Regions from separate parts of the Homo sapiens genome. Here all the other regions are linked to region 3. The links are contacts of gene promoters, found by promoter capture Hi-C in human tissues and cell types (Jung and others, 2019). All regions are on one chromosome and are shown on one strand. Each heading gives the region's core, a stretch centred on a gene start or on the middle of the fragment in contact. The rest is flanking DNA. Distances are from core to core; before and after follow the strand shown.

Region 1 (2,700 bases), core at 95-2,594, 400 kb before region 3:
CCCTCCTCCCTGGAAAGCTTTCTGCCTCCCATGCTCATGTGTTTCCTGTTCTTGAATCTCCCTCCTCCAGGAAGCCACCAAGATAGCAAGTGAGCTGTGGAGTCAAACCGATCAGCTCCAACACTGCTGTGGGAGGTTAGCCAAGCGCTCATCCACTTCTGAACCTTGGATTCCCACCATCGACCCCCGACCCTCCCCTCGCTAGGGCTTGTCATCGTCTTCTGCCCATGGGGCAACCAAACCTCTCCACGGAAGGGGACAGGTCTCCTTGCTGCAGTGGGTAAAGGCCAGCGCAGTTAGGTGCAGGAGGCATTCACACACACGTGCACACTCCCCACCTTGCACACATATCTGCGTGAGCCGGGGAGACCCTAGGGAATGTGTGTGCATGTTGTCTATGCATGCGGGTAGAATCCGCAAACGGTGTGGAGACTCGGGCTCTTGGGTACCTCTGAAGGCCCCTGAAGTCCCCATGGGCTTCTCCTTCCGTCCAGGGCACCCTCTTATCAGGCCATGGCCCTGAGACGCGTAGTGCAGACGCCCCCGGCGCTGAGGCTGAGGAGGCAGATGGCCCCTCCCCGCACTGTGCAGGGCACCCGGTTGGGGGTGGAGGGGAGGGCCGCGTCGGTGAAGCGGGAAAGCCTAGTGGGAGGATTCCCTGGAGCTGAGGAGCCGGGGCCTGGGAAGGGGCGCAGAGGCTCCACCCAGGCGGGGGCGGGAAGGGCGGTGCCAGGGCGGACAGCGGACGCGCGCGCCTGCACGGACTCGGGCACACGCAGCCCTTCCGCGGCAGCGCCCGCCGCTCCACCGTCGCCATGGCTACCGGCTGGCCTGGAGCGGGGAGGGGCCCTTCCTCCCCTTCGGCGCCAACAGGAGGCGATTTGAGGGGACTCAGCGTGACTGGTGCATCCCGGGGTTGGAAAATGGGTGGGTGCTTGCGACTGTCCACGTGTGGGGGACCCTGGGGTTCGCTTTGCGGTAGATGCAAACGCCGCGGCGCGTGTGCGGGGCTCTGCAGTGGAGCCTGAGCCGTGCCGGCCGAGGCGTGGTGTGGGGGAGGCTGCCGGCCCTCTCGCGCGCGGGGTGTTCACGCCTAGAGCGCTGGGGCTGGGGGCCTACCACCCGGTCTCCTCCCAGCCCCACCTCCGATTTAGCTGTGTGACCTTGGGCAGGTGTCCAGATGTCTAGATCTCTCTCAGCCCCTGGTTGCCCATGTACCTCATAAGGGTTTGGTAAAGATTTAAGTCATTTTGTAAAGCATTTTAACATAGTACCTGGAACCTAGTAAATGCTTCATAAATCTTACTGTCCCTCATACCTGGGTCTCAGTTTTCCCAGTTGTTGATGGGTTTGGAGTGATCATGTGACATCATCTGAGGAGTTGCCCAGGTCCTCAGCCTGAGTGTTGAGGCTGCGGTAGACCCAGCTTCCGCGGGTGCCCGTGGGGGAAGGTGGTAAGTGTGCCAGTCTGGCTGATAGATCAGTTTACACCAGGATGCCCAGTGCTCAGCCAGGCCAGGCGCATGGTGGGCGTCAGGAAAGGGCTGCTGTACTTGGCTGAGTTGAATGTTCAGAGGCGCCTGGATGGGAGAGAAGGAAGAGGCAGCAGCAAGTCGCTCCTGAGGGGCTGGAGCCCTCCTGTAAGACCCACTTCCCTTCCCGGGTGGCAGAGTGGCAGACTTCCGAGTGCTGCCTAGAAGCCTAGTTGGCACAGGGGACTGGCTTTTGGGTCCCGCTGTTTTATGGACAGCTCTCCACACATTCTGGTTTTAGGCTCTGGCGGCAGTGCCTGAGGGATGATCTGAGCCAAGGACAGAGCCACTGAGGGCGTGATAATTGAGGGAGGAAAATTAATTGTCCTTAATTTGGCGTAAATCCCAAAGACCTTCCTCGTGTAAGGAATTCAGAGTAGATTCCGAGACACAGGGCTGCACACATTTGTACTTCCCTTCCCTTCCCTATCTGCGGGTGGAGATGAAGGCCACTTGACTCCTGGGCCCTGACTCTGGCAGGCCATGGCCACGTCTTCCCCATGAGCTGGGCAGGTAGGAATGAGGTCTTGAAAGAGTTAGACTGGTGCTCTGGAGGGCACCCAGGATGGCCCTAGCAGCCCCGAGTGTCCCCAGGTGTTGGGGAGGTGAGCCCTGCACCTCTGGTCCCCCTCAGGCCTTCCTATGGAAGCAAGCAGCAGCTGGGCCAAAGGAGGCTGATCCCCTGCCTGGTGCATCTCAGTCCTCTTCATTTCCGTCCTCCTTCCCTTCTCTTGCCACTGTTGAACATTTTACTTTTAAAAATCTGAAAGGGCACTGTGGGATCATATTTACAGCCAAGGAGACACTGGGTTTATATCCAGAACTTCTAGGGCTGCAGGTGGGGAAACGTACAGCCAGGTCCCAGGAAAGGCTGGGGCGGCAAGGCCGTGCTGGGAATCCTATTGCTCTCTAGCCTGAGACCTCTGCTCCTCATGGGCCACAGTCCCTTTGGGATGTCCCTGGCAGCTAGAGCCTTGGGGAGCATCCCCTGGGACTGGCAGCAGATAGATAGGTATCTTGCTCCTGCCTGTTGGGGCTCGTCCAACTCCCTCTTCTACCCGCCCCCCAGTCGCTCTCCCTGGGTCTCCAAGAGGCTCCAGGGAGGGCTAGTTTCTGCCAGCCTTTACCTTCTTCATGTCTGAGGATGCCATGTGCCTTTACTCTGGCA
Region 2 (2,799 bases), core at 180-2,679, 300 kb before region 3:
TGCCCCCAGTTAGGCCTTTCAAGCATTTAAAAATACTGAGCATTTTTAAATACTGAGGTTATATAGTGACATCCTTCTTTTTTTTTCTTTTAAAAAATGTTATTATATGAACAACATTATAAAGGAGAGTAATATTATGTACCGTAAATCCTGGCTCATGGTGAACACTTAATAAACATCTTATTAAGTGAATGAATATAGAAGAAATAAATTCACTCACCTTCTTTATGGGCTCCTTACTCCTGTGCCCAAACAGTCTAATATTTCATTTTTTCAGATTCCTTTCTACTGCTTGGGAAGTTAAAAAAAAAATCTGCTATTTCAAGGTGTTTTGAGAGTGGGAATAAGTCCCTTAGCTTCTGTACCTGCCCTCCACCCAGCCTCTGATGCTCTCATGTGATTGCAGGTACTCTGTTCCACCTGAGCATGGAAAGCGGTTGGAACGCCTCGCCAAAGGTACTGTGTCTCTTCTGTTTGCTGGATTGGACCCTCCTATGAGCTGTGCTCCTTGCTCTGCACTAAAATGTGCGTTCCCCATGGTCAGATACTTGCAGGTCCTGTTGCAGGCCTGCAGACGGGGGTGAGCCACACTGGTTACCTTAAGAGGGCAGTGACGGAGCCTTTTCTTCCTTTGTCCTGACTGTCTGTGCCTCAGTTTTAATGAGCAGGGGTGTTTCTTTGACCAGCGATAATGAACCAGACCCAGTATGACTGGTGTTTCCACTAAAGACCCAAATGTTAAAGAAAAAATTGAACTTTATGCTTTGTTTCTTTTAAGTGGACTTAGATTTGTATGTCTGGAGAACATAGGAAAGCCTGGGTAGATGATACTACAGCTGCATTACTGAAAAAAGATCAGGGATACAAGTGACTGGAGAAAAGGTCCTAAATAGTTTCAAAGCTCTATAAGAACAGAGGCAGCTTGGGTGACCTTGGTTTCCCAAACAGGATTTCATTACCCACGTAATGCCCTACATGGGAGTGAGCCTAGAGGCTCATTGCAGAATCTTAGAATTGGTGCGGAGCTATAAGGATCCTCAGAGGTCACATTGGTGATGCATCCTCTTTATCATTCCGATGAGAAGCACAGGTGTGAAGTGACTCCAGGATTGCGGAGCTAGTGTGGAGCACTGTGTTAACCTGTACCCTTTCAATTAAATAGGCTTTTTCCCAGGAAGTGCTCAAAGCTGTGAGGCATTTCTCCGCCACAAGATGACCCTGATTTCCCCGTTAATGCTGAAGAAATATGGAATTCCCTTTGACAAGGTGAGCTGATGTTACATGCCAAAGTTCTCAGGCACCACCCTTTCTGGCCTTTGTTTTACAGTTTTATTCTAGTTCATCACTATACCAAGAGGGGGCCAAAGCTTAAATAAACTATGTAACAACACTTTGATCTAAGAGCATTAAAGGTGGGGCCACTGTAGCTTCCTGGTGCCAGAGGAGAGTCAGATCCCCTAGAACAGTGTTCATTTGGAGGAATGGTTAATTATAGTCATGTCATCTGATATGTCTGGGCTTTGCATTTTATAGAAGACAGCAAGGACCCCAGGGGTTTTATGACTTACCCTTTGTTACTCAGCTAAGTTGTGGTGGAGCTCAGAATTCCAGTTCTGTGGACTTCTGCCATTTGAAGCAGCTGCTTCAAGTCTGCTCTTGTTCAGGTGACTCAAGAGGCTGGAGAGTTTATGATCACTTTCCCTTATGGTTACCATGCCGGCTTTAACCATGGTTTTAACTGTGCGGAGTCTACCAATTTTGCTACCCGTCGGTGGATTGAGTACGGCAAGCAAGCTGTGCTGGTAAGTCTGCTTGATTTCTTTCTATAACACCATGACAAAAATGAGCAAATTCTGGTTAGATACGTTGGCTGGTGATTAGAGTATTTCTTTGAGCTGCTGGAATTCAGAAACAAGCAGCTAGCAATGTGTCAGAGTACTAACATTTTGTGTTCATAAGGAATTTTTAAAAATGTGTTCAGAATTGGGAAGTATAAAATGAGGTTCTTAAGTCCATTAGGCATTAAAACCACATCCACACACGTTAATACTCTTGTTTATCCATTCCGAGATTTCTCTGTTGAAATTTTTAGGGGTTTCCTTTACTCTAGGGAAGCAGCAGGGTCGGGCCTTTGACTGATAGTAGTAGACTTGCTTGTGTGTTCCTGGCTTGGACAGGGAACAAGGGCAGGTGGCTCACCGTCCTGGGGGCCTAAGTGCAGAGCCTAACCACCCTCTGTGACCCCGAGTTAGTGCCCAGGTAGATTTGCCCCAGTAGCATGTGCTCTCTGCCTTTTTTTCCCTGCTTCCCTTCATGTTTGAAGGTCCTGCAAGGATAACATGCCCTCAGCCTGTGAACCAAAACAATCTGGTTATAAACCATCTTGCACTTGTTTCCATGTGGAGGGAGGAGCTAGGACGTGGGGGTGAGTTGGAAGCAGCAAGGTATGCTCACCTGGTGCTCTTCTGGTTCCTGCTGACAGTGCTCCTGTAGAAAGGACATGGTGAAGATCTCCATGGATGTGTTTGTGAGAAAGTTCCAGCCAGAAAGGTACAAACTTTGGAAAGCTGGGAAGGACAACACAGTTATTGACCATACTCTGCCCACGCCAGAAGCAGCTGAGTTTCTTAAGGAGAGTGAACTGCCTCCAAGAGCTGGCAACGAGGAGGAGTGCCCAGAGGAGGACATGGAAGGGGTGGAGGATGGAGAGGAAGGAGACCTGAAGACAAGGTAACCCAGCAGCCCTTTTGTCCTGGCTGCGTGAGGGAGGGATGTCTGGGTAGGTCCTGTAATCTGTGG
Region 3 (2,700 bases), core at 12-2,511:
GTTCAATAGATCCGGGTTTGATGCTGGTTGTGCCACAGAATTAGTGTCTTATTACACAAGTAGTCTCTTTGAACCTCAGTTTCCGTATCTGACAGAGGTATGTAAGGAGGGCATTTCAAGTGATGTTGCATGTGGGGGTGTTTGCATATAAGTAAACATGGGGAGTAGAGGGGATGTGAGGGGCTGGAGGGTAGAGGTCTATGTGGTATGCACTGGGGGTATTGCTGGGAAGCAGCAGTGTTTGAGGATGGCTGGAGCTGTGCAGAGCATCTCCTGTGACTTGAGGATGTGCCAGTCATGTCCTTGGTACCACTCGGGATAATTCTTACTCCAAAGACTGTAAACACTAAAAATGAAGTGCCTAATGTACAGTAAGTGCTCAGTATTTGGCTGATTAAATAGCAAATGCTTTCACTGCATGCGATATCCAAAGAACTACTTTGTAAAGTTTTGTATATAAATTAATTAGACCCTCACAACAATCTTATTAAGAGGTACTATTGTCACAACTCCCCATTCTTCAGATAAGGAAATGGGCATAGGGACATTCCTAAGATACTCAGTAGCAAGTGACCAAGCACAATATTCAAACCCGAGCCGGTCGGCACCAAGTTTAAAATTATGCAGTGTAGCCGGGCACGGTGGCTCACGTCTGTACTCTCAGCATTTTGGGAGGCCGAGATGAGTGGATTGCTTGAGTTCAGGAGTTTGTGACCAGTCTGAGCAACATGGCAAAAACCTGTCTCTACAAAAAATACAAAAATTAGCTGGATGTGGTGGTGCGCCTGTAGCCCCAACTACTCAAGAGGCAGAGGTGGGAGGATGGCTTCAGTCCAGGAGGTGAAGGTTGTGGAGATCGCGCCACTGCACTCCAGTCCAAGCAACATAGCGAGACCTTGTCAAAAAAAAAAAAAAATGAATGAATGAAAGAATTATGCAGTGATACTGCCCAGAGGATAGAGTGCACGTGAAATGCTTAACAGTGAAGTCGGTGTTCCTGATGGCCGCGGGTCGGCTGAACCGGACTCCCAGCGCCCGAGAGGAGGCCAGGGGAACTACAATGCCCACAAGGCTCCGCGCCTTCCTCGATGTACTTCCGGCTGGCCTGGGACTCAGGCTGAACATTGGTTCTCTGTGCGGGGCGGTGGCGGGGATTGGAGGGCGGGAGCTGTGCTGACTTAGGATTGGCAAAATCGCTATCAGCCACGCCTCTAAAACCCGGAAGTAACCTCCCCGGTAGTCCCACGTGTAGCGGAGAAACAGTAGTTAGGATGGCTGAAGGGGATACTCACCGGCTGAAGGCCGACTGTGATTCCCCCTACCCCCACAAGGCGATTTTGACCCCCTGAGGGCTGCTCTAGAGGACTCAGGCCCCGAAGCTGTCCCAGGGAGGTCCCCGCTGCATCCCACCACCCAAGCTGTGCCTCATGGAGTCGATGTTTAGCAGCCCTGCCGAGGCGGCGCTGCAGCGAGAGACCGGGGTGCCAGGACTGCTTACTCCTCTTCCGGACCTGGACGGAGTGTACGAGCTGGAGCGAGTCGCTGGATTTGTCCGCGACCTGGGGTGTGAACGAGTGAGGACAGACTTAGGGAAGGGTGGCTCGCCTCTGTCGGGATGGGTCGCCCAGAGGATCCGGATCTTGGGGGATTTTGTGAGGGCGAGAGGGTGGGGGAATCAGTCTGTCCGCAGCGCGTTGACCATCCCTCCCTTCCACCTACTACGTGGGGCAGAGTGCCCCTCTGGGACCAGGGGCTTTGAAGGTTGAGTGGGAGCTCCTGGAAGATTGCTTTAAAGAAGCCCTCAGTGGGAGAGAGGCTGTCCCTGACTCCATGGTTTATGCTTATAGGTTGCCTTGCAGTTCCCTGACCAGCTATTGGGAGATGCTGTGGCTGTGGCTGCACGACTGGAGGAGACGACAGGGTCAAAGATGTTCATTCTGGGTGACACAGCCTACGGCAGGTGTGAACTTGGCCTTAGGTGGGCCAGGCCTGGGGATCCGGGGCTCATGGGGTTTTACGTCTATGACAGTGATTGCCTTCAATGGTGGTGTTTCTCCTTGATGATAATGGTAATGACTCCCCTTCTGATGCTAGCTCCTTTCATTGACAATGTCTTCCTTTAATGAAACCATTTTATTCACTGACCACATTTCCCAGTGATGACAGCAACTCGCCTCCAGAAGAGAACCCATTTCTCTGATGCTATCTTCCCTGCAGCTGCTGCGTGGATGTGCTGGGTGCTGAGCAAGCTGGAGCTCAGGCTCTCATACATTTTGGCCCTGCCTGCTTAAGCCCTCCAGCCCGCCCACTGCCCGTTGCCTTCGTGCTTCGTCAACGTTCTGTGGCCTTGGAGCTCTGTGTCAAGGCCTTTGAGGCCCAGAACCCAGACCCCAAAGCGCCTGTGGTGCTGCTGAGTGAGCCGGCCTGTGCCCATGCCCTGGGTAAGGGGTTTTGCCTGTGTATGCACAAAGGGTGAGCCAACTGCTTTATGCCTTAATTTCCCCATTTCCATATACCATCCATAGAACTCTTGATATGGGCTTGGCCCCAGCCTACTGGGTCATATTTAGTCTCCTGGGGATGAGGGAGCTCCTGCTTTGCCAGGCTCCAACCTCAACACTACCTCCTTCTCTTCCAGAGGCTTTGGCTACTCTCCTGCGCCCACGGTACCTGGACCTGCTAGTCTCCAGCCCAGCTTTT

Evidence for each region. Contacts are between HindIII fragments. The study calls those that stand out against the background at their distance.
Region 1: a fragment that was not itself captured here is called in contact with the fragment with the promoter of DPH2 in region 3 in 1 of the 25 tissues and cell types used here (dorsolateral prefrontal cortex).
Region 2: a contact is called between a fragment that was not itself captured here and the fragment with the promoter of DPH2 in region 3, in 1 of the 25 tissues and cell types used here (mesenchymal stem cells).

Annotation. Positions count from the first base shown.
Region 1 is chr1:43,565,091-43,567,790 of GRCh38, forward strand. All of the region lies in intron 5 of PTPRF (protein tyrosine phosphatase receptor type F), which reads left to right. Among named protein-coding and RNA genes, the nearest start is that of PTPRF, 36 kb to the left of the region's middle. RefSeq lists an enhancer at 9-804 and a silencer at 649-798. The HindIII fragment of the contact is 5,442 bases long and covers 1-2,700 here.
Region 2 is chr1:43,665,290-43,668,088 of GRCh38, forward strand. KDM4A (lysine demethylase 4A) reads left to right here. Exons shown (of 22, transcript NM_014663.3): 6 at 407-456; 7 at 1,163-1,266; 8 at 1,665-1,802; 9 at 2,483-2,730. LOC124904165 (a long non-coding RNA gene) reads right to left here and starts at 2,543. Exons shown (of 3, transcript XR_007066050.1): 1 at 2,455-2,543; 2 at 1,569-1,823. RefSeq lists an enhancer at 1,023-2,222. The HindIII fragment of the contact is 3,337 bases long and covers 1-2,799 here.
Region 3 is chr1:43,968,749-43,971,448 of GRCh38, forward strand. It overlaps DPH2 (diphthamide biosynthesis 2), which reads left to right and starts at 1,262. Exons shown (of 6, transcript NM_001384.5): 1 at 1,262-1,574; 2 at 1,848-1,960; 3 at 2,218-2,441; 4 at 2,639-2,700. The coding sequence starts at 1,428. RefSeq lists enhancers at 1,293-1,572, 2,058-2,604, 2,605-2,700. The HindIII fragment of the contact is 15,505 bases long and covers 1-2,700 here.